Linked DNA regions of Homo sapiens: region 2 is linked to region 1. The links are contacts of gene promoters, found by promoter capture Hi-C in blood cells and fetal thymus (Javierre and others, 2016). All regions are on one chromosome and are shown on one strand. Each heading gives the region's core, a stretch centred on a gene start or on the middle of the fragment in contact. The rest is flanking DNA. Distances are from core to core; before and after follow the strand shown. Region 1 holds the start of ZNF528 (zinc finger protein 528). Region 2 holds the start of ZNF134 (zinc finger protein 134).

Evidence for each region. The method cuts DNA at HindIII sites, captures the fragments that hold promoters and counts their contacts. A CHiCAGO score of 5 or more calls a contact.
Region 2: a contact is called between the fragment with the promoter of ZNF134 here and the fragment with the promoter of ZNF528 in region 1, in 3 of 17 cell types (non-activated CD4 T cells, total CD4 T cells and naive CD4 T cells). The highest score is 8.5, in non-activated CD4 T cells.

Annotation. Positions count from the first base shown.
Region 1 is chr19:52,396,161-52,403,843 of GRCh38, forward strand. It overlaps ZNF528 (zinc finger protein 528), which reads left to right and starts at 1,689. Exons shown (of 7, transcript NM_032423.3): 1 at 1,689-1,744; 2 at 2,207-2,459; 3 at 5,525-5,593; 4 at 5,787-5,868. The coding sequence starts at 5,854. ZNF528-AS1 (ZNF528 antisense RNA 1) reads right to left here and starts at 1,597. Exons shown (of 7, transcript NR_125345.1): 1 at 1,302-1,597; 2 at 1,035-1,107; 3 at 450-592; 4 at 205-339. It also overlaps a transcript of ZNF880 not described here. RefSeq lists an enhancer at 1,001-2,200. The HindIII fragment of the contact is 5,447 bases long and covers 1,264-6,710 here.
Region 2 is chr19:57,609,410-57,616,322 of GRCh38, forward strand. It overlaps ZNF134 (zinc finger protein 134), which reads left to right and starts at 4,833. Exons shown (of 3, transcript NM_003435.5): 1 at 4,833-5,094. ZNF530 (zinc finger protein 530) reads left to right here. Exons shown (of 4, transcript NM_001321981.2): 4 at 1-689. RefSeq lists an enhancer at 4,728-4,907 and a silencer at 5,038-5,087. The HindIII fragment of the contact is 2,580 bases long and covers 4,410-6,913 here.

The DNA of each region.
Region 1 (7,683 bases), core at 439-2,938:
CGTTTCACCATGTTAACCAGGCTGGTCTCTAATTCCCGACCTCAGGTGATCTGCCCTCCTCGGCCTCCCAAAGTATTGGGATTACAGGCGTGAGCCACCACGCCTGGCCCAGATATCCCCTTTAATAAAGCTAGTCCATTTACATGTGCACTGACCTCCCTGGATCTGGAGGTAGAGGCTGGTCTCAGGAGATTGAAGTAATACCTCGACTGGCAGAATCTCAGGGCAACATCATTGAGGTACAGCCAGTTGCATTTCACTAGGCTCAAGAGGATTGCTGCCTCAAGCAGGATAACCAGGCCTGCCTGGAGCAGTGCCGTAGTCCAGGATCCCAGTGACCTAGGTGAGAAGTTGGTACTCAGATCAAAGAAAAGTTCTTCAGGTGACCCCACTGTCTGCAGCCAATGGGCCTGCTTGTGGGCCTTATGTATTTGTGTTTCAAAAATAACCTGAGGGCTTGATGTGGGGGTCCTTATCTCCCATGCAAGGTGATTCATGCCTATAATCCGAGCACTTTGGTAGGAGCAGATGGGAAGACTGCTTGAGGCTAGAAGCTGGAGACCAGCCTGGGCAACAAAACCAGACTACATCTCTATTAAAAACAAAGCAACAAACAGTAGAAAATTAGCACAGTGGAGAGGCACAGGCCTTTACTCACAGCTACTCGGCAGGCTGAGACAGGGGGTCACCTGCCCAGGACCCCAGGAAGTCAAGGTTGCAGTGAGCTATGATTGCGCCACTGCATTTCAGCCTCGGTGGCAGAGACCCTGTCTTAAAATTTTAAAAAGTATTAAAAAACTAAGTTGGACCGGGCGTGGTGGCTACTCTGGAGGCTGGGGCAAGAGAATCACTTGAACCCAGGAGGCGGAGGTTACAGTGAGCTGAGTGCCTGCCACTGTACTCCCGCCTGGGGGACAGAGGGAGACGCTGTCTCAAAACAACAACAACAACAAAAAACTACGTCGTTTATGGCTATTTTTATAAGTTACTGGCTTTTTTTTTTTAAAGAATCGGTGACTTATCTTCACACTGGCCTTAGTCCTCCATGCCCAACACGATGTCCCTAGGAAAGTCTCTGGAATTGAGCACAGGGTTGACCTTCACCGTCTAGAGTGAATGGGGAAGATAAATGAAAAGTATTTATCTTCTATGGGCACTGGCATGAAATAGAACATTCTACCCTGGCAGGGTTTTGCATTTCACATTTTAGCTTGCATCATCCCCTTCACAGACAATTCCAAAGTGTGTTAATTCAATTCCTAAAGCTTCCCTTCCCTTCCTCCCTTCCCTTCCCTCCTTACTTTTCTTTCTTGTCCATTTATTTTCGGTTTTTTTCTCTTTCTTTCTTGGTTTTCTTTCTCTTTTTCAACTTCTCTTTCTTTTCTCTTTCTCTTTACTCTCTCTCTTCTCTCTCTTTCTGCTTCCAGGGTAGGTGGGACTTGAAATTCATTTTAATAGAAGGAATTTTCGTGGATATAATCTACAACCGATTTTGCTCTGCGCAGGTAAGATCCGTTTTCAGACCAAAACCCTGAAAACAAGCGCAGCCAGTCAAGCGAACGGAAGCGCAGGCCCGGCCCAGGCTTTGTCCCGGCCCGCCCTGGTCCCAGCCAGTCCGGCCTCTAGGATGCGCGCGCAATTTCGTGCAAACCCGGAAGCGGACCGCGGGGGGCGAACGCCTAGAGCGCAGTTTCCGGTAGACCCGGAAGCCGATTGCAGGGAGAAACTGTTTTCGCAGCAGTGCGTGAGTTTCCCTTTGTCTATGTTAAGTCTAGGCTAGCCAGTTCTTCTCTGCTTCTATACCCGGGAGCTGAGGGGCATGCAGACCTTGAAATCCCGGCACCGCTCCCTCCACCCCGAGTAAATTCAGACATCCTTTGAGAGTCTGGGAGTCGCTTTCTGCGTGTTAAAATCGCTTGGAGGCTGGTCGTGTGCCCGGTCTTTTTGTCATTTACCCACGTAGACACCTCCTATCGTGGGGTTTACCTGCTTCAAATCCTTTAGTAACCCCTACACACGCCCCGCACCACGTAAAATCCTCACTCTCCGTTCCCCTAGCCTCGCCCTTCTTTGCCCCTAGAGCTCAGCGCCCCAACAGGGCACGAGAGGCCTCGTCCTCTGCCCAGACCTGGTTTCTGCAGACTCCACCCCTCTCCTGACCCACTCCTGCCTTTTTGCTCCTTAATCTGGACCCTCTGTTCCCCAGGCCTCCCTTTTCCAGCCACCGGTTCTCCTGACCCCGAGTGTGGGGGGTGACTTCAGTCTCCTGACATCCAGTGTTCTCTCGAGCCAGTTTCCAGCCCACAGAAAATGAGCTCTTCCGGAAGTGGGCATCTTATTCCAATCCCCTCCCTGTGAATGTGTGGAGAAAAAGAGATGGGAACGAGGCAGAGGAAATAGAGAAATTTTGAAAGAGAAATGAAGAATGAGAGACCCATTAACAGAAGGCAAAGTAGAAGGTGAGTGAGGGGTTTGCAGAGGCACAGTGAAAGAAGGTGCCGAGAAAATAGCAGGGGAGAAAAGTAACTGTAAAAATATAGACAAACCTGGGTCTGTAGAAAGACGAAATTCAACAAGATAGGGAAGGCTTCTCAGACAGAGGGGGGAGAGGAGGAGGGATTTGGAGCCAGGTCAGACAGAGCAGCGTGGTGCTGGGACAGCCAGAGGGGGCAGCTGGTCACAAGGAGAACAGGGAGAACCACAGCAGGGGGAGGCCTGGGATCTAAGGGTGCCAGAGAGTGGGGACAGGGGTGTGTAATATCGAAGATGGAATTTAACAGGGAGACCCCAAGGGGAGCTGAGATGTGGGAGGAAAGAGGCAGAAATATATGGAGATTAGGGACAATGAAAGATTGGGCAGAAAGAGGAATAAGAGGTGAAACAAGTTGTAAAAATGGATCAGAACAGGTGGGAGAGAAGGAATAGAGGGAAGAATGGGACAAAGAGAAGAGGAGGGACTCAAAATGAACAGAATCCTAGGGGAAAATAGAGAAAAAAAGAGCTAGGAAAAAAGATGAGAATGAGAGATATGTACAGAATGAGGCAGGGAAACAGTAGTGAGGAAAGAGGGGGACCCTGGTTACAGATGAGTGGTGAGTTGATTGGAAATTATGATTGAATTGTGACATATTAATTTTTCTATAATATAAAATTTGTTTAGAACACATGAGGCTAGGAGCTGTGGCTCACACGTGTAATCCCAGTACTTTGGGAAGCTGAGGTGAGCGGATCACTTGAGGTCAGGAGTTGAGACCAGCCTGGCCAACATGTGAAACCCATCTCTAGTAAAAATACAAAAATTAGCTGGGCCTGATGGCCTGCGCCTGTAATCCCAGCTACTCTGGAGGCTGAGGCAGGAGAATCGCTTAATCCTGGGAGGCAGAGGTTGCAGTGAGCCGAGATCGTGTCACTGCACTCCAGGTTAGGTGACAGAGCAAGACTCCATCTCAAAAAACAAAAAACAAAAAACCACACATGAAGATGAGAATTGGAACACTATTTATAAGGCACTCTTCTCTTTTCTTGGGATGGACTAGGGTGTGAGTGTATAAGTTAGGAAAAACCAGTGTGTTTTTGTGTTCACAGTGAACACAATAAAGAGCGCTCAACACAGAATGCCTCATCTCTGGTCACCAAAGTAATATGGGAATTACTTGTCACCAACAAGCAGTTCTTCGTCAGACAGCACCTGGGTGTTCTGTAATTTTACTCAGTTTAACTGGTCAGTGTAGGAACAACCACAGACACATTTTGATCACTAAAGGTGAGGGATTCTCCTTTGGGTGTGAGAGTAGTAAAAACAGTGTGGTTTTTTCCTGTCTCAAACAGTAAGGGGAAGAATTTTCCAACAGGCCCACTCACCTGTCTCTAGGACTGTGTTCTTAGTAGTGACTGGGAATTGTCTGTCCCTGCTCCTGGCTGCTGCTGATGCTGAGACTGTGTGCCACAGGCCAGCCCCATTCACTCTCTCCTGATGCCACGGCATCCCTCCTCCACAGTGTCATCAGATTTTACTTCAAGGGAATTATTTTGGTCAGCATACCCAGATGGAGTTGTTGCCCATTAAAACACACACACACACACACACACACACACACACACACACGCCTTTATTTTTTCCACTATTTCATCCTCAGAAGAAAAAACAAAGTATTAGCTACATTTTTACTTGCAATAAGTATGCCTTTTCTGTGCTCCATGTAAGAGCACAATATACCAAAATCTTGTTTAGGCGCTCTCTCACTCTTTCCTCCATTTCTTGCTTGACCCCATCCAATCAGGTTTTGACACCAACCATTCCACTGCTCCTTTTTTTATCTGAGTCACCAGTGACTTCTCTGTTTCTAAATCTAGTTATTTATTTATTCATTTAATTTTTAGAGACAAGGTCTTGCTCTGTCACCCAAGCTGGCATGCAGTGGCACAGTCATAGTTCACCATAACCTCAAACCCCTAGACTCCAGCAATCCTCCCGTCTTAGCCTCCAGAGTAGATAGGACTATGGGCCTGTCCCTCTGCGTGGCTGATTGAAAAAAAAATTTTTTTTTTTGAGACAAAGTCTCACTACATTGCCCAGGCTGGTCTTGAACTCCTGACTTCTAGCCATCCTCCTACAAAGAAGTCCCAGCATGCTGGGATTAGAGGCATGAGCCCTTTACCCTGCTTAAATCTGACTTTGAATTTTCTGTCCTCCTGTCTTTTTCTGTCAGCAGCATGTTTCACAGCTGATCACTCTTTTTTTTCGCAGCTTTGAAGACATTGCTTGTATTTTTAAAAATCTGTTTAAAATTTTTCTCATTACTTTCGTATCTTATCAGTTTCCTCTGCTGCTGTCTCCTGAAGTGTCTTCTCTGAATATGGAAATGTCACCCAATTTAGTCCTTAAACCTGTTCTGTCTGCCCACACCCTCAGCTTTTCCTTTTGATCTCATCTATGGTTTTAAACACCACCAACATGTCTCCATTTTCCCTCTTCACCCACCCCTCTCCCCTGAATTCCAAAATCCTGTGTCCAGTCATGTTCTCGACATCTCTGCTGGGACATCCACAGGCATCTCCACCTCCACGTGTCCAAAATAGGCTTCCTGAACTCCCCCAGACATGTTCTCCCTACAGTCCTGCATAGCTCAGATGACAGACACCTTCTACTTTCTGGGGATTAACTAAACCTGTCAGAATGTGCTTAAAATATATGAGATACTATTTGTGTTTTAATTTCTAAGGTACAGAATAAGTGACATATTTACTTAAAATGAGTGAGGAAATAGATTGTTTCAAAATTTCTTTTGATGTGTAGGAGAAAATATTTGAAGAGCTCAGCCCTGCCTGATCTGCTTCCCCAGGACCTCTCTGACCTCATCTCCTGCCTCTGTTCTTCCCGCTCCCTCTACTGCAACTACACAGCCCCCTTTCCTTTTCTGAGAGCGTTTTGTATTTTTAAAATAAGTGCTTGATCAAAGTATGATTTTAGGAATCACAGTTTATTACCACATGAAGAATTGCTTTTTTTTTTTTTTTTTTTTAGGTTCACAAATTTTAAGAAAGGGAGAATAAAGTGAAAAAAATCTCAGAAGGAATCCACTCAACAGACGAGGTACCTTAACCACATAATGGTTGATTTCCAAAATTATTAACATCTGCTTGCTCAGTTAGGATAAATCAGACCTATGTAGAAAGTCAAAGTTTGAGGATTACCTCAGGGTGAGGTCTTCCCTTTGTGTGTGGCTATGGCACAGGAAGGAGGTATGTTGATTCTAAGCCCTAAGCAGCATATTTTTGACATTCAGGATTCACTTCCAAAGAGACATATTATGCAAGGAAGCAACTTGGAAGAGGAAAGAAAAGAAGTCAGGAATGGCCCTTACTCAGGTAAGGTAATGTTCTCAGTGGATTGTTCTGTCTCTGTTTCTTCCTGAAATGCCAGGCATTGGAGTTGCTAATCTTTGACTCTGAAGCATCCTGCCTGACACGTTTGCTTGCACTTACCCATGGCTTCTTCCAGTCCCTTCATTTCCGCTTGAGATTTCAGTTCACTGTGACCCATTGACATGAACTTGGGAAGAGGCTGCACTGGGCATGGTCCGGGGGAGGGCTCTCAGCAGACATGGATGGAGACGGGGTGTGGGTCCCGTGGTGGCAGTGCTGCTGGGCAGCAGGGATTGTTCAGGGATCACATCTGGATGCACTGTCAGTGTTCTGTGGACTAGAATTAGAGAAGCTGCACGTCAAAGTTCCTTTCTTTCTTCTTTCTTTTTTTTTTTTGAGACAGAGTCTCACACGTTGCCCAGGCTGGAGTGCAGTGGCATGATCCCTGCTCATTGCAACCTCCGCCTCCCTGATTCAAAGGATTTTTCCACCTCAGCTTCTCATGTAGCTGAGATTACAGGTATGCACCACCACTCTAATCTAATTTTTGTGTTTCTAGTAGAGATGGGGTTTCGCCATGTTGGCCAGGTTGATCTTGAATGTCAGCCTCAAGTGATCTGGCCACCTCGGCCTCCCAAAGTGCTGGGATTACAGGCGTGAGCCACCACCCCCAGCCATATCCAATGATTTCTTAAGGTATAGGGTGCTGAGGTATTTTCTTTGCCCTTAATATGTTAAATTAGTACATTAATTTCCTGTAACATATCACCTTTTTATTAATGGAATAAATTAGTAAACTTAATTAAATTTTGTTAATACCTAAATAACAATATTTTAATGGACGAAGCTTCATTTATAGGCCAGAAGCAGTGATGTGTGCCTATAATTCTAGCTTCTTGAGGGGTTGAGGTGGGAGGATCCATTCAGCCCAGGAGTTTGAGACTATCCTGGACACCTAGTGAGATCCTGTCTAAAATTTTAAAAATATTATGTTTTTGAATATGGATATTTAGTAGAGATTGGAGTTCAGGTTTCTGTGGTTTTACATGGTCTCCCATTTTTAAGTACTTACCATATGTTTATAAAATAAGTTGGTACAATTTATACATTTTTATTGTGGCAAATATGCTGAAATACACATTGGGAAAAATAGTACTTACAGGTAGGCACAATGGTGCATGCCTTTAGTTTCCCACTTGGGAGGCTAATGAGGAAGGATCCTTTGATGCCAGGAGTTCAAGGTTATGGTGTGCTGTGAATAGCCACTGCCATCCAGTTTGGACAATGTATTGAGACCCTGTGTCTAAAAATTGCGAACCAAACTAATGATGAAAAATATGTAAAAAATAGGTCACTGGGACAGGGTGCAGTGGCTCACCCCTGTAATCCCAGCACTTTGGGCCAAGGCGGGCAGATGAGAGGGTCAGGAGTTTGAAACCAGCATGACCAACATAGTGAAACCCATCTCTACTAAAAGTAGAAAAATTAGCCAGGCATGGTGGCGCACATCTGTAGACCCAGCTACTTGGGCGGCTGAGGTAGGAGAATCGCTTCAGCCTCAGAGGTGGAGATTGTGGTGAGCCAAGATTGTGCTACTGCACTCCAGCCTGGGCAACAGAGCGAGACTCCATCTCAAAAAAAAAAAAAAAAAAAAAAGTCAGTGAGAGACAACTTCTCTTATTTCAACTGATGTCTATAAGTGTGTATGTGTACTAGTGTATATGAGTGTGTAAGTGTGTACATGTGATGTGTGTGGATGAGTGCACAACAGTGGTTTTTATGAATGGCATGTCATCTATATAAATTTTATGTTTTTTA
Region 2 (6,913 bases), core at 3,583-6,082, 5.2 Mb after region 1:
AGGTCAGGAGTTCGAGACCAGCCTGGTCAACATGGCGAAACCCTGTCTCTACTAAAAGTACAAAAATTGTAAAAGTAAAAAGTAAAAGTAAAAGCTGGGTGTGGTGGCAGGCACCAGTAATCCTAGCTACTCAGGAGACAGGCAGAAGAATCTCTTGAACCTGGGAGGTGAGCCGAGATCGCACCATTGCACTTCGGCCTGGGCAACAACAGCGAAACTCTGTCTCAAAAAAAAAGTATCCACAAATGTTCCAGTGACTATGACTGCAAGATCACTGTGTGCAGAAATCTCTAGAAATGTGTGTCTTGTAGCTCAAGTTATTACTAGAGACAACAAGGGTTTTGTGGATTCCTGTAGCCTCTCTGGCCTGTTTACTTCAAGGCCATTGCTGCACAGACAAAAAAAAAAAAGGATGAAGTCAAGAGAGATTCGGTTGTCCTTGGTGCGGCTTTTGTGATCCAGTAGCAATCCTCTTAACGCTGATGGAAATGGCCTTCATTGCTCACCTGTATTTCCTGCCACTGAAGCAGGTCTGCCTCTACGTGGCCTGGGGAGCTAGATGGTAGAGTCAATAGAGACTTAGTAAACCAGACTTTTTGAAGTGTCAATGACCAAGATTGTTATTGCATCCATTAAAAAAAAATCAAGTTATAATTGATGTGGAATAAATTATATATATTTAAAGTGTACAACTTGATAAGTTCTGACATAAATGTAAACCCATGGAAGCATTGTTGTAATCATAAGAATGAGCATATCTCACCTGCATATTTTACTTTTGCTCTTTTATAATACATTCCAGAATATGCAGGCAACTTTTAACATTCCTTTACAATTGATTGACTTGAATTTTCTGGAATTTTATTTTAGACATCATAAAGTGTGTATTTTTTTGTGCTTTTATTTATAAAACTTCCCCTTAGGTAAGGGCCTGAGGTTAACTTTGGAGGTGACAGATATGTCCAACACCATTGATAGGGTGATGATTTCAAAAGTGTACATATGTGTGTGTGTGTGTGTGTGTGTGTGTGTGTGTGTGTATACTTACTGTTTTAATATGTGCAGTACATTGCATGTTGATTACACCTCAATGAACCTATAAAAAGTTATTCCATTTAAAAATCTGGGCCTCCCACTTCTATTGGAAACTGGACAACTTGACAGCCTGCAGTGTTTTGAAACAGCATGGATTGGGTGTCTTGTTTCCAGCATATGTCCCATGTTCCCCAACACTGTTCCTCAGGAAACAGGGAGGAACAGCTGTTCCTCAGGACCTGCTGAGTGGCCATATTCCCTGAAGGCCAGAAAAGTAACAAGGTGACCGTTTTGGACAAAATTCTGAGCTTAAAACCTTGCCTGAATCAGTAGCCCCCAAATTCATTGTGCACATCTTATAATTTCCAAGAACACACATATTAAGTGAATATTTTTATGTTTATAATTGTGAAATGGTCTGTTCAGGGCTGTCATTCCTCAACCTTTTTTTTCAACCACCCTCTCATTAAGGAAGCATATGTATTAATCATGGTTTCTGTTTTTTGTATTATATGTCTTGACATCTTAAAATTCTTGCTGGTGACAGAGAGACTTACCCTACCAGAGGTAGCTAATTTCTAAAAATAGTAAACAACTACCTTGAGAGCAAGGCAAGCCAACTACCCTCTTTATCTAACTCTTACTCACCAAGCCAATACTTTCCCTGCACTAAATCATCCCAGCGTTACTGCCAGTGATTTTGCAGCAGTCTGCAGCAATTTTGGTCCTTGCCTCCTCAGAAGAAAATTCAACCGAGGAGGCAGAGGTTGGCTTAAGGCACAGGAAGAGACCAAGGCAAGTTTTTTTTAGCAGGAGTGAGAGTTTATTAAAATGTTTTAGAGTAGGAGTGAAAGGAATCAAAGTACACTTGGAAAAGGGCCAAGTGGATAACTTGAGAGGTCAAGTGCCCCACTTGATCCTTGGCTTGGGACTTTATACATTTGCTTATTTCCCAGGCTCTTTATTCTCCTTCCTTCGGTAGGCTGTTGCTTGACTACTGCATGCACAGTGGTCTGCCAGTACTTGGGAGGGGCCGCATGCAGTTTGTTTACTGAAGTCATACATATACTCATTTGGGGTGATCTTCCCTTAACAAGTCATGCACCCCCAGAGGAAGGTCAAATACCAGTCAAATTTTGCCATCTTGCCCCATTTTGTGCATGCTCGAAACCTTATCAGGGGTTGTGGTTCACTGGCTCCAGGTGTTTTCTATCTGTTGGAAAACTCTTTTCCCTCCTGGTACCAATCATGGCCACTTATCATCTCAGAGGGATAGTTTTATGCTTTCCTGTCCTTCACCCAATGAGAGCTGGACATCTCGGGGGTCCCTCTCTTGTTTTGTTTATTATCTCAGAGGAAAAGATTTATGATTGCCTGTCCTTGACTCCAAAATTGCCTGACATTCCTGGGGTCCCTCTCTCCTGCCCTACTCTTATCTACCTACTCTAACACCAGGGTGAGGGTATGAGGCAACTAGAGACCACCCCTGTAAATCGAAGCCAACCAGAATTATTCAGACTAGCCAGTACTCAGCTGTTTGCTCTGATCTGGCCTAGGCTTTCCCCTAGCTCTTGCTTCTTCCTTTAGACTGAAACCTGTTCCTCCTGTGGCCCTGCATGGCATACTGTACTTCCCATTTCTAGGGAAATTCTGAGTAACATTAAACTTTTATTTCACTGGCATTGAGCTCTCCATGTCCTTTTCCAATAAAGACCCATCCACAAATTGGCCTCTCTTGGCTATGTAATATTACATATCTTTCCAGCACTTCTCAATGCCTTCACCTTCTCTTTTCTCCATTATGCCTGCCACATTCTAACATTCCATATAATTTAGCATTTTTTTCATATTTCCTCCTCTTTCTTGAGTACAGCGTAAGCTATTGGGGTCTGTCTCTTGTTTTGTAAATGTCCCATGCAGTTAAGATAGTGTCTGAAATACAGTAGGTGTTCCTTGAATATTTCTTAGAACTATGAATAAGCATAATACTACAGCATCCCTGTTCACCTTAATATTCTGATAGCACTTTCTAAATGTTTTCTTTACTTCTCCTTCCAGGTATTATTGAGTGTTTTCAAGAATGAAAAGAGGCCTGGCATGGTGGCTCACATCTGTAATCCCAACTTTTTGGGAGGCTGAGGTGGGAGGATCCCTTGAGCCCAAGAGTTTGAGGCTGCAGCAAGCTATGATCGTGCCACTACACTCCAGCCTGTGCAACACAGTGAGATCCTGTCTCCAAAATTAAATAAATAAATAAAATTACATTTTGGAGACTAAACGCTGCTTGTAGTCATAGTTCTAACACAGCTGTGTGCTCAGCTTCATTTGCTCACTTCTCAGAATTCAATGTCTCCTGCTCAAATTTTGCTGTCATCTTAACCGTTTTCACTTATCACAGATATGTTTCTCCAGGTCCATTTCGTCATGTATCTGTGAATAACTACAGAATTATTAACTTTGAGTAATTTGGCCGGGCGCGGGGGCTCTCCTGTAATCCCAGCACTTTGGGAGGCTGAGGCGGGCAGATCACGAGGTCAGGAGATCGAGACCATCCTGGCTAACACGGTGAAACCCCATCTCTACTAAAAATACAAAAAGTTAGCCGGGCATGGTGGCAGGCGCCTGTAATCCCAGCTACTCCGGAGGCTGAGGCAGGAGAATAGTGTGAACCTGGGAGGCGGAGCCTGCAGTGAGCTATGGTCGCACCACTGCACTCCAGCCTGGGCGACTGAGCAAGACTCCGTCTCAAAAAAAAAAAACACAAAACAACTTTTGAGTAATTTAAACAATTCACAAATGTTTTTGTCTTTCTTTCCCCATACACTCGCCCTTTTCTTTTTTAAAACCATAAATAAATCTCAATTCTCAATTCAGACACTGTCGGTGTAATTGCAGGTGAAATGAGAATCACCTCCCAGCCAAGAAATCTGATCCCAATTTTCCAAATCTTTATTTCTGGGTTCAGACACCACATTTTCAGCCCCTGTCTTGGCATATAAAAGCATTTATAATGGTTCTTCTTTTCAGATAAGAAACATCACCAAAAGGAAATAGATATATCTCAACTTTTGGGCTAGGAACTCTCATTTGGATAAAAGAATATTTCTCCTTTGGTTGGACATTAGTGACCATACAGGCAGGAAAGGTGCCTTCCTTGACCACCTTCTCTCGCCTGTCTTCCTCCTCATGGTTCTCTCAGGTATTTTTTTTCTGAGGAAACCAGAGGAAGAGCTCTATATTAGTCCACTTGCCTCAGGGAGCTCCAGCATCCCTCCATAGCCACTGTCTGGAGACCATTCTTCCACTCCATGGCCCTGCCTGGGGACAATTCTCTGTTAACTCTGACCCAACTGAGGCTCACAAAACTGACTCAAAGCTTCCCTCTACAGTACACATATTTTTTAAATGAAGGAAATTTGACTGAACTATGAGTGGACTCAGAGTGACATTGGATGTTGTGTGTCCATTTGGTGGTGTGGCTTCAGGGAACATCTGTAAGAATATATCCCAATATTTCGGGGATCCCTGCAGACCTCACTACACAAGACCTGGTTGAGGGTCCTTTAAAAGGAGCGAAGCCACGCCCTGACCTCAGAGTCTCAGGGCATAATTTCTCAGCGCCCCTCGCAGTACCATTTGGCCTTTGCCCAGCGTGCAGGGGAGTTAGCCGTCACCACGGCCAAGTGCACATGAGAACTGCATTGCCCAGAAACCTGTGCGCCGCCCGGCGGCGGCACTCTTAGGGGCGTCTCCCTGCGGACGGAAGCTCTCTGGGCGGGACTTCCGGTATCTTCCTCGCGGTGGACATCTTGTCGGCTCTTAGGTGGAACCATCGGAGCAGAAGCTCGGGGTTGCTGGGCGGTTCCGAGGTGACGGAAGCGGGAGGGTGCGGGAGAAGTCGCTGTTCGCTCTGCGGAGTGGCTCGCCAGCGAAGACCCCGCCTGCGCCCCCGGGGACGGACGACCGCGGTGCCAGGGTCCCGCGACCTGGGACCCCCTCGCGGCTCCGGGTGGTCTACGAACTGTGATGGCGGCGGCCGCGGTGATGGGCCCGGCGCAGGTGGGTGCTGCCTTTCCCAGACTTTCGCCCGCCCCAAATCCTGAAGTTCCAAATGAGGAGCGCCTGTCTGAGTCCCTGCAGCGCAGGCCCCAGTGTCCAAGGCAGCGGGGCGCTGGTGGGTGGGGGCGAGTGTGACTGGCAGAGGGGCAGCCTGAGCATAGGTTTGGAGCTGGACTGAGCCCGTAGCAGTCGGGAGCGTGTGTGAACCGTAGTCAGGCCTGCAATGTCGAGGGGAGAAGTTGCTCCTTCATTGCGAGGACGATAGGAGCCATGGCGGGTTTTGAATGGTGGAGGGAAGGGATCCGAAAAAGGATTTTTAAAGTATTCCAATGTTTGCTGAGGAGGAAACCGACTACAGTGAGGTAGAAACGATGAGGATGGAGGCAAGGAGACGTTTGAGGAGGTCCCTGCAACAAACTCCAGAAGTGTTGCGGTGGTGGCTGGGCCAGAGCAGTGGCAGGAGGGGTTGGGTGGGGAAGTCATGAGATTCTGGGTAGATTTTTAAAGATGGAACCAATGGGGTTTCCTGCCGCATCAGATGTGGTCGTGAGTGAATGTAGGGAGGAAAGGGCTATCCAGGGTTTTTTTGGCCTGTTTTCCTTCCTGAACGTGTGAAAGAATGGAAATTGGTAAGTCACAGCAGGGAGCACGTTTCAGGGGCATCAGGAATTGGGTTTTGGACTTGGTGAATCTAAGGTGTTCTGCACTGGAGGTTCATCACGGGTAGCTGAACATGCAGGTCTGGGGTTCTAGAGAGGGAGTTGTGCTAGAGACTTCAATGGGTGAGGCATAAGGTCAAAGCCTGTAGTAGATCAGATTTAGAGGGTGGAATTTCAAGGAAGTTATTTTGTGTGGTCTCTGAAGTGAGAGGTGGGTTTAGGGTGGAAGGCCAGGGATGAAGGGGTGGACACTTAAGATTCCTTCCAGAAAGGAGGGGTCCTGGCATGTGAAAGCATTCTAGATGGTGTTGTTGGAAGTCAATGCTTGGTGCTGCAAAGTGAAACCAGCACTCAGGCAAAAGTTTTCTCAGCAAGGCAATTTACTTCTGTGCAAGTGTGCTGCCTGTGTTAATCACGATCCCAAGAGCACACTGAACAAAGGAGGGAAGGGGTTTTTATCTCTAACCCATAGTCCCTACCTTCCTCTGTGTCACTCCCCCATGGGCTGGGGTCGGACCGCTTAATCTAAGCTGAGCCAATTGGGTATTTGTGAGTATTTTCCAAATAAGGAAGAGGGAAGGGGAAGGTGAGTTACAGTGGTGGGACATGTGAGTTGTGTAGGACGTGTGGTTTTGGCGGGGGCAATGGGTGCAAAGTGAGTAAGGGAACAGATGTGAATTATTGGTTAGTGCTTACAGGAAGGTTGTTTATAGTAACTAGGGGCAAGGAGGCATGGAGAACAAGAAAGGTTTGAGAACAAAGAACAAGGAAGTTAACAGGCTAAACCTTTGAAGAGGAATTTTATTATATCTTATAGTGTCAGCAAGAGGAGAGGGCTGTAGAGCATAAGTAGCCTGGCCTGCACTGGAGACCAAGGTGAGGGATGCAGTAGGTTTGCCACCCTACAGGCTCAGCATGCCTTCATGGGCGCTGCCTGTGGAGCAGTCCCATCCCCAACCAGTGCATTGGTGCCTCAGTTACCCAAACCCTCAGGTAAGCAGAATTGATGAACATCTCTAATGAAGGATCACTGCAGCTCCCCTTCAGAGGAATATGTATCAGGTAGGCTGGTTTAGTGCAAGGGCTAGTGTACACCTTGCAAGTACGCAGAAGGAACTAAAAAATGTATGTACAAAGTAAGGGAAATTTATACTAGCACT